2 separate regions of the Homo sapiens genome follow, and region 1 is linked to region 2. Evidence: promoter capture Hi-C in 16 types of primary human blood cells and fetal thymus (Javierre and others, 2016). All regions are on one chromosome and are shown on one strand. Each heading gives the region's core, a stretch centred on a gene start or on the middle of the fragment in contact. The rest is flanking DNA. Distances are from core to core; before and after follow the strand shown. Region 1 overlaps CHD2 (chromodomain helicase DNA binding protein 2). Region 2 holds the start of MCTP2 (multiple C2 and transmembrane domain containing 2).

What was found. The method cuts DNA at HindIII sites, captures the fragments that hold promoters and counts their contacts. A CHiCAGO score of 5 or more calls a contact.
Region 1: a contact is called between a fragment that was not itself captured here and the fragment with the promoter of MCTP2 in region 2, in 5 of 17 cell types (M0 macrophages, neutrophils, naive CD8 T cells and 2 more). The highest score is 7.5, in M0 macrophages.

The regions. Positions count from the first base shown.
Region 1 is chr15:93,020,937-93,024,931 of GRCh38, reverse strand. CHD2 (chromodomain helicase DNA binding protein 2) reads right to left here. Exons shown (of 39, transcript NM_001271.4): 39 at 1-560. The coding sequence ends at 227. Among named protein-coding and RNA genes, the nearest start is that of RGMA, 66 kb to the left of the region's middle. The HindIII fragment of the contact is 5,768 bases long and covers 1-3,995 here.
Region 2 is chr15:94,228,819-94,232,870 of GRCh38, reverse strand. MCTP2 (multiple C2 and transmembrane domain containing 2) reads right to left here and starts at 1,310. Exons shown (of 23, transcript NM_001385001.1): 1 at 1,207-1,310. RefSeq lists a silencer at 1,251-1,380 and an enhancer at 2,916-3,055. The HindIII fragment of the contact is 9,020 bases long and covers 1-3,042 here.

The DNA of each region.
Region 1 (3,995 bases), core at 90-2,589, 1.2 Mb after region 2:
AGGCTGGAATGGGATGGGGTGCCAAAGTGCAGGAGTGGTGACCCGAATCAGAGCTGGACCCAGTGAAAGGCCTCCCATTCCTTGAAGTGCTCCTTCAGCCAGTGAGTTGACAGCAGCAGCATGTCCAAAACTCCACTTACTGGTCTAGATAACCGGCTACTGTAGGATCAGACCAAAAATATCCACGTGTTTGGTGACTCTTACTCTCTCCTTTACGAGCTGTCCTTTATGTTTTCCGAACATTCCAGTTATAATCTGGGTTGTTTTTCTGTTCTAGTGATCTCTCCAAAGGAGACCTATGATCCAGGGGTGACTTGGAATCGTGAGGAGATTTCTGAGAAGGGGGTGAGCGAGGATCTGAGACTGCAGGGTGCAATGGGGGTAGAGGCTGTTTATATTCCCCCAGTTTATCTGTGTGGAAAGAGCGGTAATGGTCTGAGGGTCCCTGGCCATGGTAGCCCATAGCGGGGCGGTGATCAGACATTCGTCGGAAATCCTGCTGGTGGTAATTTTGAGGCCTAAATTCATCGGATCTCCTCCGCTTGGAGTCATGATGGTGCCTGAAATAGAGATGCAAGGATTAGTCGAAAGACTGAAGCCAGATTCCCATCCACTTCTCTTCACTACCCACTTGGCTCTTCCTCATATACTCATATTCAAGGACAAATGCTCACATTATTAGGAATCAAAAAAATTAATAACAGAGTCATTTTACACTTATTAGCAAAATACATCCTATGAAATAAGGCTCAAGTGTGCAGTGACACAAGTACACACTTGAAAAATTACTGATGGCTTTTGCAAACTCACTCCCTTTAGGAAAAATCTGGTAAGATCCATAAACATTACCATATTCCTGGACCCAGCCCATGAGAAAAAGAGCCACAGAAATTATTTTGTAAGTTATTAATAACACCATCAACCTAAATATGCAACAAGTGAGTGACTAGTTAATAAAATTATCTTAAAAACCAACTCAGTGTGAAGAGTATTAAAATTTTTAGCTTGGACCATGGTAAACTGCTCATGATACCATTAAAAAAAGAATTACTAAAACTCAACAACAAAAACAACCCAACTCAAAAACAGGCAAAGGATTTGAACAGACATTTCTCCAAAGAAGCTATACAAATGGCCAAAAAAAACCATGAGAAGATGCTCCATGTCATTAATCACTAGGGAAATGCATGTTCAAGCCACAATGAGACTACTTCACACCCACGAAGATGGAGATACTCATTAAAAAAAAACACAAAAAAAAAACCCAGGAAATAAGTGTTGGCAAAGATAAGGAAAACCTTCAACTCTTACACATTGCTGGTAGGAATGTAAAATGGTTCAGCCATCGTAGAAACATTTTGGTGTTTCCTAAAAACGTAAAGAATATGACTAATAATTCCACTCCCAGGCACATATCCAAAACTGAAAACAGGTAGTCAAGTACCTGTACACCAATCTTCACTGCAGCATTATTCACAACAGCCCAAAGATGGAAACAACTCAAATGTCCATCAACAGATGAATGGATAAACAAAATGTGGTATATATCCACACAACGAAATATTATTCAGCCATAAGGATGGAATGAGTACTGATGAATGAACCTTGAAAACATTATGCTAAGTGAAAGAAGCCAGACACAAAAGGTCACATATTGTATGACTCTTTCTATATGAAATGTCTAGAACAGGCAAATCCAGAGAGACAGAATGCAAACTGGTGGCTGCCAGAGGCTGGGGAGAGGGAATAATGGGGAAGGATTATTTAATGGTTATAGGGTTTTCTCTGACTGATGAAAGTGTTTTGGAACTAGATAGAAGTGGTGGCTGCCCAATATTATAAATGCACTAAGGTCATTCAGTTGTTCGCTTTAAAATAGTTCCTTTATGTAATATGAATTTCACCTCAATGAAAGAAAGAGGGAGGAAGAAGTGAGCAATCTCAAGTTCCAGTCAAAATGGAATAACAGGGACTAGATTTACCATCCTGCCTGAAACAGCCAAAAGGGACAAAATGCATAGAACAGTGGTTTTCAAGACACCAGACATCAGGCAATGAAGAACAGTGATCCCTGAGGAATGGACACTAATGAAATGAGCCTTTTAACGGCTCCTGTTCACTATCATGAGATAGTCCCTCAGGCTGTGACACAGGAAGAAGGAAACCCAGAAAGACACCAGTTGGCTTCCCAAGGTGAGGGATGGGGAACCAAGGTGGCCAGAGTTCACAGGGCATGGCATGAGAGAAGACAGTGCTGCAGAGAAAGAAGTTTGAAGATCTACAGAGGGTTCCCAGGTATACAGCTGAATACTGCTTAGGATGTGCATGTGGGGAAACTACCCAAGGCCAGGGAAAGGACCACCCGAAAAGACTGAAGGTAACAGTGCCCTGTGCTCACAAAGAACTGGCATCGTGCCTGTTCTCACCAGCCACACCAAAGACCTCCAGATGGTGATACGGTTTGGGTATGTGTCCCCTCCAAATCTCATGTTGAAATGTGACCTCCAATGTTGTAGTGGGAGGTGTTTGGGCAGATCCCTCATAAATGGCTTGGTGCTGTCCTTGTGATAATGAGTGAGTTCTCTGAGTTCACGTGAGAGCTGGTGCTTTAAAAGAGGCTGGCACCTCCTCCTCTCTCTCTTGCTCCCTCTCTTGCCATGGGACGCCTACTGCCACTTCACCTTCCACCATGAGTAAAAGCTCCCTGAGGCCTCTCCAGAAGCCAACCAGATGCTGGTGCTATGCTTGTACAGCCTGCGGAACTGTGCGCCAAATAAAACTCTTTTCTCTATAAATTACCCAGCCTCAGGTATTCCTGCAAAACAGACTAACGCAATTGGGTAGAGTGCAATGAGGCTCTTTACCTTGGGGGTGGGCAATCATTAGCCCTTGACTGAGCACTGCTCTGGTTCTACCTAACGAATCTTAACAGCAAGACCTGAAAAAGGAAACTGCTTCCAAATAACCTGCAACTCATAACAAAGCTCCAGAATACTTACAGGAATACAGAAATATCCAGCACCCAACAAGGTAAATGTTACATCTGGCATCTGACAAAAATTACTAGGCACAGAAAGCACCAGGGGAGCAAGACCCACAGTGAGGAGGTATCAACTGAAACTGACCCAAGTGATAAGATTCGCAGACAAGGACATCAAAACCATTGTTATATCTGTGTTCCAGGTTTTAAAAGGTTAGACACAGAACATATATAAAAAGACCCAAAAACAACTTTCCGAACTTTTAGAACTACAATGTATAAAATGCAAAGTACACTGGATGGGCCTCACAGCAGTCTTGACATTGAAAAGGAAAGTATTAGTGAACTTGAAGAGGTAGCAATAGAAACTATCCACAGTGAAACAGAAAGCATAATTTTTTAAAAGTCAACAGAATACAAGTGAGCTGTGAGACAACTTCAAGCAAGCTAATATAGGTGTAATGAGAATCTCCAAAGAAGAAGAGAGAGTGGGGGATCAGAAAAAATATTTGAAGAAGATTGTAAAAATTTCCAAATTTTATGGAAACAATAAACCCACAGATCCAAGAAGTTCAAAAATTTCCAAGCACAAGAAACCAAGGAAAAATACACCAAGGCACATCATAATCAGTGATTTTTTTTAAAAGGAACATTATGTAAAGAGGAACAAAGATAAGGATGACAGATTTTTCATCACAAAACAATGCAAGTAAATAGCAGAGGTACATCTTTAAAGCACTGAAAGAAACTGTAAAGCCAAAAATGTATACACTCAGCAAAAACTACTTTCAAAAATGAAGGCAAAATACTTTTTCAGGCATATATACAAACACTGAAAGAGTTTATCACCAGCAGAAAAAGTCCTTCAGGCAAAAGGAAAGTGACATCAAATAGAAATACAGACCTACTAGAAGAACGCAGGGCAAGATGCCCACTGGGTCCAGACAATAGAGAAGGGTGGGAGCGAGGGGCAGTCTCCCAACGAGGTGGCAGCTACTCAGCTACAGCTCTCTGC
Region 2 (4,052 bases), core at 61-2,560:
AATAATCTTATTTTAAGCATGGTTTTGACAATTTTTATTGCTTTGGAATGACTGATCAGGCTAATGACAGAGACTCTTCAAAGATTTACATTCTCCCTGCATTTAAATACTTATAACCAGCGATTACACAGGTGCTGCTGAGGCAAAGCGCAGCACCATTGGTCTCGTTCTAAACACCCACCTGTGAGGAATAAGTGCCTTAAGATTCCCCTTTGTATTAATATCAACACCTGTGCTACCCAACAGCACACCAGCCCGGCTCTCAGAGGTCTGCCCGTTAACAGGTGTACAATAAATATTTGTTGAATTGAAATGCTACTGACTCAAGCAAAAAATGAATGCTAATGTAAATTATAATCCATACAAATCCTTCAATAAGTGGTGTCTGAATTCTGTGCGTCCTGAAGCAAGTGTTCTAACGTCTCACGGTTCACTGAGAAGCTGCTTGGTACCTTAAGGGTTCGCACCCTTGTACCTTCCAGACCAAGCTCTTGTAAGCATCTAGAGGAGGCTGAAACCCTCAGTCAGCATCGCACAGAAGTTCATTCAGACTAGAGAAAACCTCTTTTATGGCAACCCAATCATTTAAAAAAAGCCGTCAGCACATTTGCTTAACAAATGGACAGTGCAGGAGGGAACTAATTGCGGAAACTAATCGCCACTCAAGTTCACCACCAACATCACTGTCTTTATTTTTAACTTACTTATCTTCAGTGGGATTGAGACACTGTTTGTTACCTACGCAATTATCCCAAGGATTTCTGCTCCGGTGTCGTTGAGCAAATGTCAGCGCAAAGAATTAAAGTTGAACCTCCGGGTCTCTACGAAGAGAGCGTATTAAAGCCCACCCAGCTGAGGAACTGACCTCTGTGGAAGGAGTCCTGGATGTGGCGGTGACTACCTCCGTAGCGCCCCGGGGAGACTGAATGTGTGGCCTTTAAAATGCAAAGAAATTCTGGGCCAGGCTGCCCTCCCCTAGTGCGCCTTCCAGTACGCCACGCCTGGATTTCTGCCTCCAGTCCTCAGGACACCTTTCTGATCTCTGAACCACAAGCAGCTCCGGGGTAGTAGCGCCACTGAATTCTCATCCTGGACCCTCCAGCTCCCCAACTCCCAGCTTCGGTTGAGAGAAGACGCCCACCCCCAGGCGGCGACCGTGCTGCCCGGCCCACGCGCGCTGCCAGGTGAACCCGGCACCGCCCTCACCTGTGCGAGGCCGCGTTCGGGGGCTGCAAAGCTGGGCAGGCGCGCGCCCCTCACCTGCACCGGACCCGCTGCAGTCGCCACTCGGAAGCGCAGGGAGCAACCCTGACGCGGCGGGGGCGGGGGCATCACCGAGGGCCCCCGGACTTCCTCGGGCCCCCCCACCGCCCTTGCGAGCCCCGCCTAAAGGGGAGGAGGCGGCCGCGCGTCACCTTTGAGCAGCCTCCGACCCAAGCGCCCGCGCTGCCGCCGGGAGCTCGGCCGGGTGTTGCAAGGAGGCGCTATGCTTGGTGCTGGGCACTGGCTGGGCGTAGAGAAGGCGATTACTTGTAACTCATTCGTTTGGGTTGGCTCACAGGAAAAGGAAGGTGTGTCCAAAAAGTCCGAAGTGAGGAAATAGGACGAGGATGGCTTGCAAACTCGTAAAGTCTTAATAAGCTGTCTTCGCTGATACTCAGAAGGGTTCTCTTCGCTCCTGTAGGTCCCTAATAGATTCATGGGAAGACAGCAGCCTCCCTTTGTAACGCCCTGACCCTGGGAAGAGGTACCCGAGCCAGACAGCCTATTAACCTATGCCACGTGTGCGCGACTGTGGGTGGAAGATGCCCGCCCAGATCCACAGAACTGTTTCCTGAGCCTTGGTGCCTCATCTATGAGATAAGGCCGGCGTACTGCTCAGCAAGCCGTCCCGAGTACTCGGCAGAGAACCCTAAAGACCCTCCCGTGCGATTGTTGGCACTCAGCGAATATTTGCTATTTATTTCCCCTTTCCCTTACTTTCTTTTTCTACTTTTTTTTACGCCGCTTTCCTGCTGTAATTGTCTTATTGCACTTTGTTTGCTCGGTTTCACTGCCTGGTCAGTTTCTTTTCCCGTCTATGAACGAGCCTAAGTCTGTGCGCTCTAGGAATTTGGGTGGATTAGGAAAAGAAATGTATGATCCATGCCTTCTGGGAGATCAGGGACTCATCTCTGGGAAATAGCATTTTTAAATTAGATACAAGAGAGTTACAGAAAATAACCTTAAAACGGGAATGGGACCTCTGGGAATAGGCGAGCTCTGAAATGAAGCGTTTAGTTGGTGTCACTGGTGATTAAGAGCTCCGGCTTTGGAGTCAGACCTCAAATCAAATTCTGCCTGGGCAACTAATTGTGTAAATGGACGAGTTCACTTAACCTCTCTAAATTTTAACTTCAACAAACTGGTTGTTTAAATAGCTTAAAATAGCTTAAATAGCTTAAAATAATAGCTATCTCATACTTTCTGAGAAATTAATTAGGTAATTCACATAAAATCCTCATTACAGTGTCCTGGGCCATGGTAACCACTTAATAAAAGTTAGCTATTAACAATACTAAGGTAGGAAATGGGAGGAAGGGGCATAAAAATTTAGAAAACATGAGGACGTGATAGAAAACAGCTGCCACTGTCATGCAATTCCGACTTACAACAATAGCTACCACTGAGGAACACAACTTCGCACCAGTTTCTGTGATTGGCATGTAACACGTGATCATATTGAATTTTCACAAACCAGGAGACAGTTAATAAAATCTCTGATTCAAGATGAGGAAAATGAGCATCAGAACCATGAAATAACCTGCCTGAAGCTATGAGTCAAGTTAGTAGCCGAGTCAGAGCAAGCTGAGGCCTATGGCAAAATTGGCTTTTCCCACCGTGCCGAAGGTTACATCCCCTAGCAGAGAACAGAGAGAGGTAAGGGTAAAACAGCATGAAAGGAAGAAGAGAAAGAGCAGTAGGCAGACGAAGCAATCATACCTTTAAAGCTGACTAAGAATACAAATGAATTAAAATAGTAAGTGAACCCACACAAAAGCTTTTTTGCCTTTAACTCCTGCCCCAGTGGAGTTCCTGTTCTGTGGTTCCGGCAGTCCAACCGCATTTTTCAATCATTAAATGGTATAGAAAGTGAAACAACTAAAGATACAGAAATCTAAGGTCACAACTTGCCCTTCCCACCACAATACACTCATCTGCCCAGCTTCCTGGGTTTTTTGTTTTTAATTGTTCAAACATATTACCTGTCTCCTTTTCTATGTTCCACCCAGGAAATGTCCCTTCCAGGGAATAATATTGTTGCTTATACCAATTTAACTTTACTACATAACCACACCAGCATTTAGAATGGCAACTGGACTCATACATGTAGCTGATAAATTTTTAACACACTTTTGTTATATTGAATTTCTCTAAACAGATTTTGAACCAGGTCTTACATTATAGGCACTGGTCAGTGATGTCATAATTATACTTAAAAAAAAATAAAATCTCCTGCACGTATCATAGGCAGCTTTCTCTCTCTTCTGAGCAACCAGATATTTGGCCTCTGAAGAAATGCCCCTATTGTCAATGTGATAATTGAGGTGGAGATTTCCCACTTTCAGATACAATTGCTTTTATATCTTAGACAATGTATGTTTGGTTGCATGACAATCTAATATTGGCACCTCTTCTTTTAAATTGTAAATGGAAGATGTGTCTTCTGAAGGCCCAGTGTACTCCTTGGCTATCATGGCTATACTGCCTGTCATACATGCAGAAGCACGGTTAAGTGCATACAAAGGCTAGATAACAATTAGTGCAGTTATCTAGCCACGTCCCTGTGCCTTTTTGAATGAGCCAGAGTATTTCAAATGAAACAAATGAAAATTGCTGTAGCCACCCAGAGTCTTTGACAATGAGGGTTAAAGCAGTCTTCTCTAAAGAAGACAAGACCCTGTCTGTAAATGCATAGGATCTAGAGTTCCATATCTTCTCTGCTCAGTGGGAGCCTCCTTGGGTCATCCTATCAGAGTTGGCCATGCAGTCAACACAGTCTGGCTCCATTT